4 separate regions of the Homo sapiens genome follow, and regions 2, 3 and 4 are each linked to region 1. Evidence: promoter capture Hi-C in 16 types of primary human blood cells and fetal thymus (Javierre and others, 2016). All regions are on one chromosome and are shown on one strand. Each heading gives the region's core, a stretch centred on a gene start or on the middle of the fragment in contact. The rest is flanking DNA. Distances are from core to core; before and after follow the strand shown. Region 1 holds the start of PRKAR1B (protein kinase cAMP-dependent type I regulatory subunit beta). Region 2 has its middle 11 kb from the start of FOXL3-OT1. Region 3 has its middle 110 kb from the start of FOXL3-OT1. Region 4 overlaps LOC116435278 (a long non-coding RNA gene).

Evidence for each region. The method cuts DNA at HindIII sites, captures the fragments that hold promoters and counts their contacts. A CHiCAGO score of 5 or more calls a contact.
Region 2: a fragment that was not itself captured here is called in contact with the fragment with the promoter of PRKAR1B in region 1 in 1 of 17 cell types (endothelial precursors); the score reaches 5.1 in endothelial precursors.
Region 3: a contact is called between a fragment that was not itself captured here and the fragment with the promoter of PRKAR1B in region 1, in 6 of 17 cell types (activated CD4 T cells, naive CD8 T cells, non-activated CD4 T cells and 3 more). The highest score is 12.6, in activated CD4 T cells.
Region 4: a fragment that was not itself captured here is called in contact with the fragment with the promoter of PRKAR1B in region 1 in 2 of 17 cell types (activated CD4 T cells and naive CD8 T cells); the score reaches 6.6 in activated CD4 T cells.

What each region holds. Positions count from the first base shown.
Region 1 is chr7:725,171-728,861 of GRCh38, reverse strand. PRKAR1B (protein kinase cAMP-dependent type I regulatory subunit beta) reads left to right here and starts at 1,581. Exons shown (of 11, transcript NM_001164760.2): 1 at 1,581-1,652. It overlaps DNAAF5 (dynein axonemal assembly factor 5), which reads right to left and starts at 2,163. Exons shown (of 13, transcript NM_017802.4): 1 at 1,547-2,163. The coding sequence starts at 2,141. RefSeq lists silencers at 1,301-1,380, 1,421-1,530, 1,591-1,640, 1,891-2,090. The HindIII fragment of the contact is 13,329 bases long and covers 1-3,691 here.
Region 2 is chr7:300,282-303,972 of GRCh38, reverse strand. No RefSeq gene overlaps it. Among named protein-coding and RNA genes, the nearest start is that of FOXL3-OT1, 11 kb to the right of the region's middle. The HindIII fragment of the contact is 8,648 bases long and covers 1-3,691 here.
Region 3 is chr7:395,500-399,190 of GRCh38, reverse strand. No RefSeq gene overlaps it. Among named protein-coding and RNA genes, the nearest start is that of FOXL3-OT1, 110 kb to the right of the region's middle. The HindIII fragment of the contact is 157 bases long and covers 1,965-2,121 here.
Region 4 is chr7:437,846-441,536 of GRCh38, reverse strand. LOC116435278 (a long non-coding RNA gene) reads right to left here. Exons shown (of 2, transcript NR_165239.1): 2 at 2,148-3,691. Among named protein-coding and RNA genes, the nearest start is that of PDGFA, 80 kb to the left of the region's middle. The HindIII fragment of the contact is 9,548 bases long and covers 1-3,691 here.

The sequences.
Region 1 (3,691 bases), core at 332-2,831:
GACCGAGACCAGAGGTGAGGCCCCCCACCCAGGGGAGAGGAAGGCCAGAGGTGCTGGAGATGAGGGGATGCTCCAGGCAGAGGCACAGTCCCTCACCCCACAGCAACCAGTGAGCACATACCCCAGCAGGCTGCGCTTGGGGCTGGGGCACAGATGGGCACAGTGCTGTCCTGTGGAACCTACGGTCCAGGGAGGGAGCTCGTGGGGCTGATGTACAGACTGGGTAGGGAAGTGGTTGAGGATGAAGAAGAAATACATTAAATGCCAGGAATTCTCAATGGCCATGTCCATCCAGCCCAAGGTTCTTCCCCAAGCTCCACAGGAGTTCTGGACCATGTGAAATCCAAAGTTAACCAACGTGGAAATCTCGGCATTTCCCCAAGTCCAGCTCTTCCTCTACTTCTGGAATCTATTCTCCACGCAGCTGCAGTGATCTTTTAACAACCTGAACTCGGGTCTATCACTTCTATTGACACCCCCTGCACTTCCCACTACATTCAGACCATCACTGGGACATCACTGGGACGGCCTGAGCTGGCCAGATCCCTCACTGCTTTCCTGCTCCCTACCGCCCACGGATTTATAGCATCAGTGTTCCCTCCTTCGGAAAGCCTTCCCGCCAGCAGGAAGCAGGCGCCTGCTATCATTCCACATCCCAGCCAGGGGAGGGAAAGGGCAAGACCCTGCAGGAATGGCCAGCTAAGGAAAGGGAACGACCGGATCAGATCAGAGCTCTAAAAAAGATGGGGAACGTTATAAAGTGGAGGGGAGAAGCGGCCTCCTTCCACTTAGGACAGTGGTCCAAGCCAGAGCGGAAAGGCAGGGGAGTAGGATGAATGGGACAGAAAGTGAAATGACCAGAGCAGAGTCTCAAAGCGCGTGCCCTCAACCAGGTGCAAGTCCTGCAAGCCCCCGAGGGAAGGAAAGGGGGCAGCTATCAGGGCACACCCCACCCCAAACCGCCTAACAGGAATTTCTGCGGTGGTTTCCAGGTATCTGGACAGAAGCGCTGGCTCGTGGGCCCGGGTGGGGTGGAGGGGGCTCAGGCAGGGAGGAGGGTGGGAGGTGAGGGTCGCGGGAGGGCGGCGTGCAAGGAGGAGGATGGCACAGGATAGGCAGGTGGAGGGGGCACAGGGAGCAGGCAGGTGGGGGGCGGGGCTTGGGGCGTGGAGGGTGGAGGCGGGGAGCAAGGGGACAGGGGAGTGAGGTGAGTGAGGGCCAAGCAGGAACAGGGGTCACGGGGCAAGGAGCACGTGGCAGCGCAGGAAACAGGTACATGGGGGTAGAGGACAAGGGAGCAGCTGAAGGGCGCGTTGGTGGCGGGACGTGAGGCAGGGGAAGCAGTGGTGGTGGGAGGAGGGGGCCGGGCGGGGTGCTTTGGGGCAGGCGGGTGGGGGAAGCGGCGCATGGGGGGTCCGGGATGTTGGGGGGTGCGGGCGTGGAGGGGGGCGGGGCCGAGCCGCGGGGGTTGTGAGAGGGGCCGCGGAGGTGGAGGTGGGGGTGAGAGTGTGGGGTGGCGTGTGGGAGCGGGGCCCGGGGTGCTCACCGGGCGTGGCCTGCGCCAGGGCGGCGGCGCAGCTGCAGCTCTCGCGGCGCACGGCGGCGAAGGGGTCGAGCAGGGAGCAGCGCAGCGCGCGCAGAGCGTCGTCCAGGTGGGGCGCGAGCGCGGCGCCGCACAGGTCCACGGCCAGGCCCAGCAGCTGCACAAGCGCCAGGCGCAGCTCCTCACAGGCCTCGGGCGGGCGGCGCGCGGGCACGGGGCCGGCCAAGCGCGCGGCGAGCGCGGGCAGCAGGCGCGGCAGGGCATCGCGGGGCCGCGCGGCGCGGCGCAGGCCCAGATCCAGCAGGTGCACTGCCAGCGCGCGGCAGCCCTCGGCGGGGTCGCTCAGGCAGCGCAGCAAGCGCGGCAGCAGTAGGCGCGCCCAGGGGCCCTGGAAAGCGGTGGGGTCGGCGGCAGGGCCTGGCTCCTCCAGCGCGCGCCGCAGGGCCTCCAAGGCGCGCCGCCGGCCCGGCTTGCTGTCGGCCTCCAGCCCCGGCAGCAGGCGGCTCAGGGCGCGGCTCAGCTCCACCGCCTCAGCCGTCTCGGCCCCCTCAGCCGGGTGTGGGGCCGCCACGGCCTCCGCCACCCCCAGCGCCGCCATCTTGCCCGCGTCGCCGGTCACTAAGGGGAACAGCGCTTTCGCGACTCTCAGCGCAGATTACGGCAGCACTTCCGGTCCGCGCTGCGGGCGGGGCGCCGGGCTACTTCCTCCCCGCCGGTGCGCACGTGGGCCTGTGCTCTTGTCGTGCTCGCCCGCTGTCCCCCTCTGTCGCCGGAACCCCCGCCAGCCTGCCTGCTGGGCCTTGTCCTGTCCCCATTGTACAGATGGGGAAGGTCTCGGGAGGGTGCAGCTCGCCCGGGATGCGGGTCCCGGGCTATAGGCCTGGGCCTGCCCCTAGGGAAGCCTGCCCTGCAGCCTAGGGGGCTTGGAGAAGGAACCTGAGTGGTCCCGCCTGGGACCAGGGTAGCCGGGAAGCCCCTGTTTGAGCCGCCTAGAGCCCCTCTGGCTTTGGGAAGGTCCGTTCCAGGAGGGAAGGACGCTGGTTCTGTGGACTGGATCCCCCTGTGGTGTAAGACAGGTGCCTGGTCTGGGCTTCACGTGCAGCCTGTCATTAGATCTCAGGCGTAGCCGCCCAATAGGTTCGCCTTACTCGCTGCCCAGGTAGAGCCAATTTATCAAGACAGGGGAATTGCAATAGAGAGTTTAATGCATGCAGAAACTGGCTGCATGCAGAAACTGGCTGCATGCAGAAACTGGCTAAAGGACACTGGAGCTTTATTGCTCAAACCAGGTTCTGAAAATCCTGAGATGGGTCATCTAAGGATAATTAGGCAGGTAGGGGGCCAGGGAGAGGGCAGTGCTTATTGGTCGGGTTGGAGATGAAACCATGGAGAGTCAAAGTTGATTCTCTTGCTGTCTTCTGTTCCTGGGTGGGATCACAGAACTGGTTGAGCCAGATTAGTGGTGTGGGTGGTGGCACCTGGTGCATCAGAATGCAGAGCCTGAAAAATATCTTGAGCACCAATCTTAGAGTTGATGATAGTGGTGTTATCCTAAGGAGCAACTGGGGAGGTTTGGAATCTTGTGGCCTCTAGCTGCATGACTCAAACCACAATTTCTAATCTTGTGGCTCATGTGTTAGTCTTACAAAAGCATTCTGGTCCCCAGGCAAGAAGGAGGTTGGCTTCAGGAAAGGGCTGTTATCATCTTTGTTTCAAAGTTAAACTATAAACTAAGTTCCTCCTAAAGTTAGCTTGGCCTACTCCCAAGAAATAACAAGGCAGCTTGGAAATTAAAAGCAAGACAGTGTTTCACAGTAGTGACCTTGACTGTGGACTTGAGTGGAGACAGAGGCGCCTAAACAGCTTGGAGTCGGAGTTGCTGTGAGCCCAGCCTAGAACGCGAGTTTGACAGCACTCACTGCAAACCAGGAGTCCCCAAGTCTGGTTAGCCAGGCACTTCTCATCTGTGACCATGCACTGAGTTTTCTAAAGGCAGAATGTGTGTAATTTTAGGACAGAACTTCAAGTTTGACCTTCTTTTTTGTTGTTGATCTTCGTGTTGCAAAATGGTGGTGTTTGTCGGTACGTCTTTTTTTTTTTTTTTTGAGATGGAATCTTGCTCTGTCGCCCAGCCTGGAGTGCAGTGGC
Region 2 (3,691 bases), core at 846-3,345, 430 kb after region 1:
CTCAGCAGCTTCTGGGGATGCAGATTCCAGCCCCACCTCAACTGTCCCCAGCAGCGGAGAGGCCAGGACCACAGCTCCCACGCTCTCCTGGGCCTCAGCAGCTTCTGGGGATGCAGATTCCAGCCCCACTTCAACTGTCCCCAGCAGCAGAGAGGCCAGGACCACAGCTCCGACACTCTCCTGGGCCTCAGCAGCTTCTGGGGATGCAGATTCCAGCCCCTCACAACTGTCCCCAGCAGCGGAGAGGCCAGGACCACAGCTCCCACGCTCTCCTGGGCCTCAGCAGCTTCTGGGAAAGCAGATTCCAGCCCCGCCTCAGCTGCAGCCGCTCAGAACTTGAGGGAGAACCTGCATTTGCGTCCGATCTCCCAGGCAGTTCTCACGTAACGGCTGGTAGCCACACTTACCCTGGGGCCCTGAGGCTGCTGTGCCCATCTTGTCCGTCACGATTCCACCTTTAGGGATATGTTTCTTGGATCAAAGTACTTATCCCCCATTATTAAGCAAATACTGAATTGCTTTTGTATAAATCAGGATACTTTCCATTGCATCTGTCTGACTCTACCCAAACCGCCCTGAGCCCAGTGGAGAATGATTGTCTTAGGTGACTGGAAGGCAACACTGGGCTTTAAGCCTGGTGCTGGAAACAAGCCCTCAGGGACCGGCCTCTCCCGCCCTTTGGCTCTGCATTCCGCTGTGCAGTCCATCTTCCCACAGGCTTTCCCTGGGCGGCCGCAGGTGGCACCTACAGGCCCAGACCACATTCCACTGTGTGAACGCTCCCTCCCCATCCATTCCAGTAGAAGCCCAGGGCTGGGGTCCATTCCTTGCTTTTGGGTCACGTGATGCCTCCACCTCAATCTCTGCAGCCGATGGGAAGGGGTCAGGTGGTGAGGCCTGGGTCAGGGACCCACTCAAAGGCAATGGTGGGCCGGGTGTGGTGGCTCACGCCTGTAATCCCAGCACTTTGGGAGGCCGAGGAGGGCAGATCACTTGAGCTCAGGAGTTCAAGACCAGCCTGGGCAACAAAGTGAAACCCCATCTCTATAAAAAATATAAAAATTAGCCAGGCGTGGTGGTGCGCACCTGTCATCCCAGCTTCCGGGGAGGCTGAGGTGGGAGGATTGCTTGAGCCTGGGAGGTGGAGGTGGAAGTGAGCCAAGATCGCACCATTGCATTCCAGCCTGGGCGATGGAGCCAAACCTTGTCTCAAAAAAAAAAAACAAAAAAGGATGAGGGAGGTCACCCCCACCCTAACCAGCAGGCAGGGGACAAGGGGCTGCTCCCCAGAGGAAACCCCATCAAAGGTGACTCTAAATGGCCGGTTACAGACGGGACCCTCCCTGTCCTCATGCTCCCAGGAAGAGGCCCCCATGGCCCAGGCATGACAGGACCAAAGTGAAAACCTCCCTTAGCCCTGTTGAAGCAAACCAGTGTGGAGAGAAAGTGGCTCCTAGCCCCGCTGTGCCTGGTTCACGGCTGACAGGAGGCCACACCTGGCCCTGGGATGGATGGCTGTTGGGGGGTCCCAGAGCCTGTCTGCTGCAGGAGTCCCTCCTCTCTAGGCCTCAGTCTCCTCCTCTACAGAAAGGGATCAAATCAACCGATCCAACCTTTCACGGAGCTGCTGTGAACGCTGAAAATGCTGCCGGGCGCTGAGCACTGAGCCTGGGAGGGCTGTTGCTTCTGGAGGCCCATGGGGTCCTCCAGCTCAGGCCCAGGATAGCAGACTCCCCAGCGCACTGGTCCTGACTCAGGGAAGGTGGGGCCCAGGCAGGCCCCAGAAGTCACAGGCAGGGAGAGTGTGTCTCCCAGCCCCAGCTGGGCAGACACCCTTGGGGATCCCAGGGTCCTCAGGCCAGACCCAGCACAGCTTAGGGTCCCCCCATCCACCCGGGCCTAGACCACTCGCCACGGAGGAGAGGCGTGGGCCCCTTGCGAGCAGGGAAGCCTGAGGTTTCTGGGACCGAGCTGCCGGCTTCCTCTGTGTTGAGGGAGACACCTTGAAACAGGGTTTTCCTGGCCCACATCTGGCCGAATCAGTTCATCTAAACAGAAAACAGTGAGAAAAATTGTTCCCAGCTTTTCAGAAACTCCAGACACATGTGGCTCCTCGTCTCTGTGTTTGGGACGGCCGAGCCACCTACGTGCCTGCTCTGCGAGCCCAGGCTTTACGGTAGGCAGGAGCATGCCCAAGAAACACGTCGCAGCACCTACTGTGTGTGGGGTCAGCGGCAGGCCGGGAAGCCGGGAGGTACAGGAGCTTCGGGAGGTCAGCTGGGGGCACCAGCGTGAGGACCTCCCGCCTCCCTCGGGTGGGCGGCGGCAGGGACCCTGGAACCAGCATGACTTGTGCAAATCCTTACCCCACCTCAAATCACACGGCCCTAGGCAGGTCTCTGTGCCTCAGTTTCCTCGTCTGTAACACGGGGAGGAGATGAGATGTCCCCATTAAATATGAGATGCCTCCTCACTTCCCGGCCTGGGAGCGTGCACCCAAACAGCTCTGCTCTACCTGGGGGCTGAGCAGAGGAGGACATTTTGCACCAGGGCCTTGAAAGCCAAGTGGGTTTTTACGAGGCTACAAAGATGAAAAAGGCATTGCAGAGGGAGGAAACCAAGCGTGAGGGCGTGGAAGCGTGACCGTGGCGGGTCAGACGGAGCCAGCAGCCTCAGCTCAGCAGGACCCATTCTCTCTCCCAGCCTGTAGACAGAGAGAGGAACATTCTCACTCTGCCCAAGCATAGCCGTGGGCATTTCACACGCTGTGCGCTGTGCATGCACATGTGTGTGGCTATATGTGTGCGTGCTTGTGCATACGGGCGTGTGTGTGCATGCATGCTCACGTGTGCATGTGCCTAGTTGATGTGCATGTGTGTAGGTGCATATATGTCTATGTACGTGTTTGTGTGCTCACACGTGTGTGTGCCTATGTTGGTGTGCACACATGTGCATGTGTGTATGTGGATATGCCTGTGTATGTGCATGCATGTTCACGTATGTATGTGACTATGTTGGTGTGCATGCAGGTGCATGTGTGTATGTTGATATGTCTGTGTACATGTGTGCATGTTCACGTGTGTGCCTATGTTGGTGTGCATGTGTGTGTGTGCACATATGTCTATGTACATGTGTGTGTGTTCATGTGTGTGTGTGTGCATGTCCATGTGATGTTCTGTCTTTGCATCTCAGGCCTATGAAGCCAGGCCCACTAGACAGCCAGGCACATCTGCACTTGGTCAGCCACAGACGCAAGGAGGCTTCAGGACGCCAGAGAGGGGACCTGCTGGTCCTGGGGACAAGTGGGAGAACTGGATGAAATAAACCATTTCTCCCTCCTCTGTCTGGAAACAAGCCTGGGATGGGAATCTGAAGGGCTGGATTTATTCCTGGGTTTGGCTGCTTTAAACCTGTGGTCCCTCTCAAGCCTCAGTTTCCCCACTTGTCAGAGGAGAGTGTTCTCTGCCCTGCAGCCTCCCTGGGTGATAAGGTGGTGGCTGTTCGGAGTCCCCAAAGAAAAGTCCTCCTCCTCTGCAGAACCTCGCGGTGAATGATACACAAGACACACTTTCAACACCAGAACTTCCCATCAACAGGCTCACCAGCCTGCAGCCTGCTGACTTCTGCAGCCTGAATGCACCTTCCCTGGGTGCTAGAAACAAAGGAGGCTGTGGGTGAAACGGTTCGCAGA
Region 3 (3,691 bases), core at 794-3,293, 330 kb after region 1:
AAGTGGAGTTCCTGAAAGAATGGATAGATGGGGAGAAGGGGACAAAAAATATTAGAAAAAATAATGACTGAAAAGTTTCCAAATTTGATAAAAGATAGAAATCCACAGATCCAAGAACGCAATAACATATAAGTGCAAGAAACACAAAGAAAAGCACACCAAACTACATTATAAATTGCTCAAAACTAGTAATAAATAGAAAATCTTAAAAGCAGCTGGAGAGAAAGCAGTGATGCTCCATGTGCAGAGACAGCAAATGTGAGGGTGATGGCAGATCTCCCACCGAGACAGCAATGTGAGGATGACGGCAGATCTCCCACCGAGACAGCAATGTGAGGATGACGGCAGATCTCCCACCGAGACAGCAATGTGAGGGTGATGGCAGTTCTCCCACCGAGACAGCAATGTGAGGGTGATGGCAGATCTCCCACCAGGACAGCAATGTGAGGGTGACGGCAGATCTCCCACCGAGACAGCAACGGGAGGGTGACGGCAGATCTCCCACTGAGACAGCAACGGGAGGGTGATGGCAGATCTCCCACTGAGACAGCAACGGGAGGGTGACGGCAGATCTCCCACCGGGACAGCAATGCGAGGGTGACGGCAGATCTCCCACCAGGACAGTGATGTGAGGGTGATGGCAGATCTCCCACCGGAAAACAATATAAGCTAGAAGACAGGAGAATGGTGTCTTTAAACTATTGATAGAGAAGAATCTTGTAAGTCTCGAATTTTATACCCAACAATAATATCTTTTTTTTAAGGTGAACTAAAGACTATTCAGACATGCAAAAGCTGAAGGAATCCATCACCACAGCAGACTTGTATAATAAGAAAGCCTTTATCTACACACACACACACACACACACACACACACACACACAGCACCACAAATGGTAAGCACAGGGTAAATCTGTAAGATTTACTCTTTTTTTATGTTTAGAGTCATGATGTCACTCTGTTACTCAGGCTGGAGTGCAGTGGTACAATCATGGCTCACTGCAGCCTTGAACTCCTGGTTTCTAGTGATCCTCCTGGCTCAGCCTCCTGAGTTGCTGGGGTTACAGGCATGAGCCACCACACCGAGTTCTAGATTTACTCTTATTATTTAAGTCTCCTTAAAAGATAATTGGGCTTTGCAAATGGCAGTGTGTGGAGTTTGGCAACACCTCTTCCCCAGACAGACATCTGTTAGACTAATCAAAATAAACAGAGACAATCGTTTGAAGTCTCTGGAGACTGATCAAAAGGTTCATAGAAAAATTGAGAAGCATTTATTCAATAAAATCTGTGAAATTTGCCAAACATTGTGGAAGGCCTTGGCATCTGAGCCATGGGTTGCACACATCCCCCCGTGGCTCTGCTGCAAAGGAGCTATTCCAGAAGCCTTGGTGGCTGAGTGCAAAGCTTCCACCTTTCCAGCTCCCTGAAATGGAAGAGCCATTCCATGGGCGTATCCAATGGCCAGACACTATTAGTAGATTTCTCTCCTAATAGTCTCTATCAGCAACATGCTGCAGAAGAGCTATACTGAGCAGGCAGCTGGGCGGAATTATCTTTTCCCCCATCCCAGCAACTGCTCCATAGGAAAGATCTAGGCAGAGAAGATAACACAACACTCCTCCTCCCCCAGGCTCTGTGCTGCAGAAGAGCTATCCTGGTGGGTTCAGCAGCAGTGTGGCAGCTCCCGTCTTCCAGCATCCTAGTGTAGAAGAGCTACTTAGGGTGTATTTGGCAACCAGTGAACATTGGGAATCCCATCCTCCTTGGCTCTGTGCTGCTAAAAATATGTCTTGGGTGGTGGAGTCAGCCAGGTGGTACCTCAGTTACTGCTCTTGCCTTTCCTAAACGCTTGCTCCATAGTGAGATACAGGTGGGGTGATTGGTGAAGAGTGAGGTCCCCCACTTCCCAGCTCCTGCTCCATAGCACAGAGCTTCTGCTCAGGGGAGGGTCATAGCAAGCTTCAAAGCAACACCTTTTCTGGCCAAGTGATTCTACTTTGTTTGGATCAGACTGTGGGCTATGGAGCAACAATGCTCCAGGGCATTGTTGAAAACAATAGAGCAATCAGGTAGTATCCACGTGGGGTGATGCCAATAGAGGCAGAACAACCAGAAGCTTATCATGGGAAGCGGCAGAGACTCCAGCTAACACCATCGTCCCTGGCGGTCCATTAGACTGTGTGCATGCCTAAGACTGCACTCTTTGAGGAGTGATGGGAGGGACATTGGAACCTCTAGTCCGTGCCTGAATGTGGGATAAATGAATACACTCTCTGTGAGCAGTTTCCAACCACAGATAGATCCATCAGCAAAGGGTTGGGAGGCCTCATAGGCTTAAGAACAAGTGGCTGACCACTAAATTGTGTTAAATCGAGGGGTGACACTTAGGACTGGCTTAAAGATAAAAATGAGGGGACAAGTGTGAGCAGGATGCATACTGCAGGAGATATAGATGTCACAGAATTATTTCAGTCAAATCACCAAACAAGAAAACAGGTGAACAAACAAATAACAACAATGATAATAAGCCCCTGGTTGGCAGATGAGGATTCAGACTTGCTACAATATCATGTTACCTCAAGTGTTCAATTTTCAATAAATATTAAGATTTGCAAAGAAACAGAAAAGTGTGATTCATACACAGGAAAAAAAAAAACAACAACAGGCAATAGAAGTTGCTTCAAAGGGGCCAAGATGTTGAGCTGAGCAGACAAAGACTTAAAAGAAGCTATTGAAAATATGAAAGAACTAAACAAAACCAAACAAAAGAACTAAAGGAAGCCATGTTGAAAGAATAAAACAAAGGCATGATGATAATGAGCTGTAAAATAGGGACTATAAAAAAGGATGAATTATAAAAAGAATCAAATGGAAATTCTGGGGTTTAAAGTACAATAGCCTAAATAAAAAATCCGCTCGAGGGGCTCAACAGTAGATTTTGGCTAGAAGAATCACTGAACTTGAGATAGATCAATACAGATTATATAACCAGAAGAAAAGAAAGAAGAATGAAGAAAAATGAACACAGCCAAGGGGAAGCGTGGGACACCATTAAGCACACCAACATGTGCATTTGCATAATGGAAATATAGAAGGAGAGGAGAAAAATATTTGAAGAAATTAGGGCTGAAAACTTCCCAAATTTGATGGATGACAACAATCTACTTCCAAGAAGTTCAACAGCCTCCAAGTAGGATAAATGCAAACAGATCCACACCCAGGCATATCACAGCCAAAATGTTGAAATCTAGAGATTAAGAGAAAAATCCTGAAAGCAGCAAGAGAAAAATGACTCCTTGGGTGCAAAGGAACCTCAAGAAAATTAACAGCAGACTTCTCATCTGAGACAATGGAGGCCAGAGGCAGTGGGATGGCAATTCAAAGTGCTGGAAAAAACAAACAAACAAACAAACAAACAAACAAAAAAGTCCTGCTAACCAAGAATTCTATAGCCAGGGAAATGATTTTTCAAAAACAGAGGTGAAATTAAGATATTCCTAGTAAACAAACAAACAAACAGAAAACAACAAGCAAATTTTTTGCTAGCAGACCTGACTAACAGAAATAGTCAAGGAGGCTTCTCAAGTGAAAAGGAGGGGCATCTGAGAAACTCCCTTGAGTATTTCAAATTCAAATTCGAATTCACACCAAAACACAAAGAGTGCCAGTGAAAGTGACTGTAAAAGAT
Region 4 (3,691 bases), core at 449-2,948, 290 kb after region 1:
TGGCTTCCTCGCCTGATGGTGACACAACCAGCCCCATCCTGGTGGTGGGCACCCACGTCACACAAGCCACGCTCCAGCTTCCCGGGTGCCCACATGTTTATGAACCAGCCTCATGCTGGTGGTGGGCGCCCACGTCACACAGGCCACGCTCCAGCTTCCCGGGTGCCCACGTGTTTTTATGAACCAGCCCCATCGTGGTGGTGGGCGCCCATGCCACACAGGCCACGCTCCAGCTTCCCGGGTGCCCACCTGTTTATGAACCAGCCTCATCCTGGTGGTGGGCGCCCACGTCACACAGGCCACGCTCCAGCTTCCCGGGTGCCCACGTGTTTATGAACCGGCCCCATCATGGTGGTGGGCACCCACGTCACACAGGCCACGCTCCAGCTTCCCGGGTGCCCACATGTTTATGAACCGGCCTCATCGTGGTGGTGGGCGCCCACGTCACACAGGCCACGCTCCAGCTTCCCGGGTGCCCACATGCTTATGAACCAGCAGTGAGATGGACGTGTCTCCCAGGGCCAGCCAGGCCTTCTCCGGCTCTTCCTACCTCGTTATGTGCTGCGGCCTGGATACACTGGAGCTTTTAAATAGAGTAGTTCCACTCTAGCATTTGATTCTGTTACGAATGGAATGGCATCCTCCAAACTTATAGGTGGAAGCTGTATCCCCCATGTGACTATATTTGGAGACAAGGCGTTTAAGGAGGTAACAAGATTGAATGATCCCATAAGGTTGGGGCCCTAATCCTAATCCTGTAGGACCAGTGTTCTTATGGGAGGAGGAAGAGACACCAGGGATCCCCACTATCTGTGCACAGAGGAGAGGCCGTGTGAGGATCTGGGGGAAGGCTGCCATCTAGAAGTTGAGGAGAGAGGCCTGTGGAGAAACCAGCTGTGCTGGTTCCTTAATGTTAGACGTCCAGCCTTCAGAGTTGTGAGAAATAAATCCGTGTTGTTTAAGACCCTCCGCTTGTGGTTTTTGTGATGACAGCTGCAGTACCCTAAAATACTTTCCAAACTCCATCACAATGTGGGCCCCATCTCCCGTTACTGCTCAGGAGTAGGAGAATGAAAAAGAGGGCTGGCAGGGGCTGGGGATGGGCGTTCTGGGATACTGGGGCCCTAGCTGACTTTGGACAAGTCTCTTTTGTCTCCCCACTGTAAAAAGGAGACCTTGGGCCCAGTGGTCTCTACACGATTCTCCACACCAGAAGCTCTCTGGCATCTTGGGTCTGGGGCCACTGCTCAGTGCAGGGAGGGCTTGGTCTTGGTAAGGGCAGCAGTATACTCTCAGGGCCCAGAACAAGGCCTGGTGTGTGAGCTGGGCCCTGGACCCGGAAGAAGGAACATTGACCTCTGCCTCCTCTTCACCTTCCCTTCTGCAGTGATCGTGGCCAACACCCAGGGCTCCAGTCCATTCCTGGGGCTTGGGGGCACAGGGACCCATAGAGAATGCCCAGTTGGCTCGAATGAGGGTTATCCCTGCATGGCCACTGTCCTTGAGATGGCTGCCCCTGGAGTGTGCAGAGGACACTCTCAGTACCACCAGATTCCAGCCTGCCTGGCGGGAGTCCCCAGGACCGTCACTCTCGCCTTGGTTACAGGGGCCTCTGTCCTCCACATCTCAGGGAGGTGGAACCAGCCCACACAGTGCACAGTAAATGCTCATACTCCTCAGCTTCTCTTAAGGGTCAGAAATCAAGGGCATACCTAGAGGCCAAAGCCTTCTTTGGGCCTCAGTTTCTCCATCTGCAGACTGAGCAGTGGGCTCCGACCATTGCTGCCATCCCCCTGAGGTCTGTAGGATCTCAGAGGTTTATTTGCAAGGAGTTTCCCCCCAGTTTCCTCTACATAAATCATCCTGAGCACACACATACCTGCGTACCTTGAGGGTGGCAGGAAGTCCAGACATTGCTCCCGACCCCCTTAGGTCCAGGCCCAGGGCACAGCCCTATAAATCCGTAACACAGAGAGCACCAAGGGCCGAAAGCGTCCTCGTGGAGGGCAGGGCTGTGGGGAAGAGGCTGAGCCACCAGGGGCTCTCGGGGGCTGGAGCCTGGCCCTGAGGCAGAGACACAGAGGGTCCCGTATCAGTCAGCGCCCTTTGGAGGGAGAGAGACAGAGACACAGACACAGGGAGATTGATTTAATGCGCTGGCCCATGTGATGGTCCAGGCTGATGAATCTGAAATCTGCAGGGCAGACCCGCAGGGGAGCAGGCTGGGAGCCCGGGCAGGATTTTATGTTGCAGTCTTGGGGCAGAAATCCTTCTCCAGGAAGCCTCGGCGTTCATCTTCAGCTGCAGCTGAGGCCCAGCCACATCTCGTGATCTGCAGCACTTGCAATTAGCCAATTGTGCGTGTCCATCACACCTGCAGCACAGCCACAGTGGCATCTGGATGGGGCTTGACCGTGCCGCTGGGCACTGCAGCCCGGCCGAGTGGACACGGGGGGGTGCCCATCACTGTGCCCACACTGTTGTTGTCCGCTGGCCATCGTGGTGGGAGTGCCAGCTGACCTCCAGCCATTGGCATCGGCAAACTGCAGCCAAGGGCTCTCCAGAGATCTAGAGGCCCTAGGAGCAGCCTGTGACCTCTGACCCGGATCTCATGACCCTTGGGTGGGAAGACTCTGAGGGTCCCGTGCTGGCCCTCTCACTGGAGCAATCCCCCATGGTGGTGACAACAGCCCTTCCCCATCTCAGCCCTCATTCCTGCGAAAGTTCCCTGGGATGGCCTCCCCATAAACCTATTTCTAGGTGACCCCAAGTTAAGGCAGTCCTGAGGGAGATGGGTCTGTGGAAGGCGTGGGAGGAGAGGGAGCTCCTGGGGTCAGGGACCGTCCCTGGCTCCATCCCAAGGGCTGCCTGGGCCCCTCCAGGAAGGGGGAGCCTCCCTCAGCCTTGCAGCTTTGGGACACTCCAGATGACCTGGAGCCACCTGCTGGGTGGAGCATGGTGCCAGCCTCTCCTGGTCTCTGAGCTCAGGGCTCTGTGCATCCATGGCCCAGAGCTAGGTCCGGCAGAGGAGAGTTTCCAAGCCTCAAGCTCAGACTGTCTCGTAGATGAAGGAGTCAACATGAGCCAGTGAAGGCAGGTGGGGCACGGCTCCAACTTTGCCACCTAAGGTGACCTGGATCCTGAGGCCGGCAGCCCGCAGGACCAGGGAGGGAGGGCGGCGGGAACGCGCAGAGAAGCGAGCTCTGGGAGCACCTGCCATGCCCTCCTGCCTCCCTGGCCAGCACGGGCTGCGGGGACACAGAGGGAGCTTGGGAATGAGGTCGTGGGGGCGGCACCTGCCCCACACACTGACTCGTCCTGGCCCTTGGTGAGTGCTCAGGGCTGGGCTCTGGACTCAGTCACGCTGGGGCCGGCTTCGCTTCCGTGCAGCTGGGGCTGGACAGAGAGGAGGACACCCACTTCTCAGCAAGCCTCTGTCTGGCCGTGTGATTCTCAGAAGGAACTGGGCTCTGGCTGGAGCAGGCTGGCGAGTGCCCATCTCGCAAGGCACCTTTCAGCCTGACCCAGGCCTCTGCCAGTGGCCGGTCTCACGTGGACCCCTGTTCCCTCCTGTGTGTTGCAGAAGCGGCCGGGCATTCAGAACAGAGCTGCTCTCGGAGCCTGACAGTGATGGATAAGCCGGGACTCTGGGTGGCTGCCGGGTGAGGGGCGAGCCTGTTTCACGCGGGCC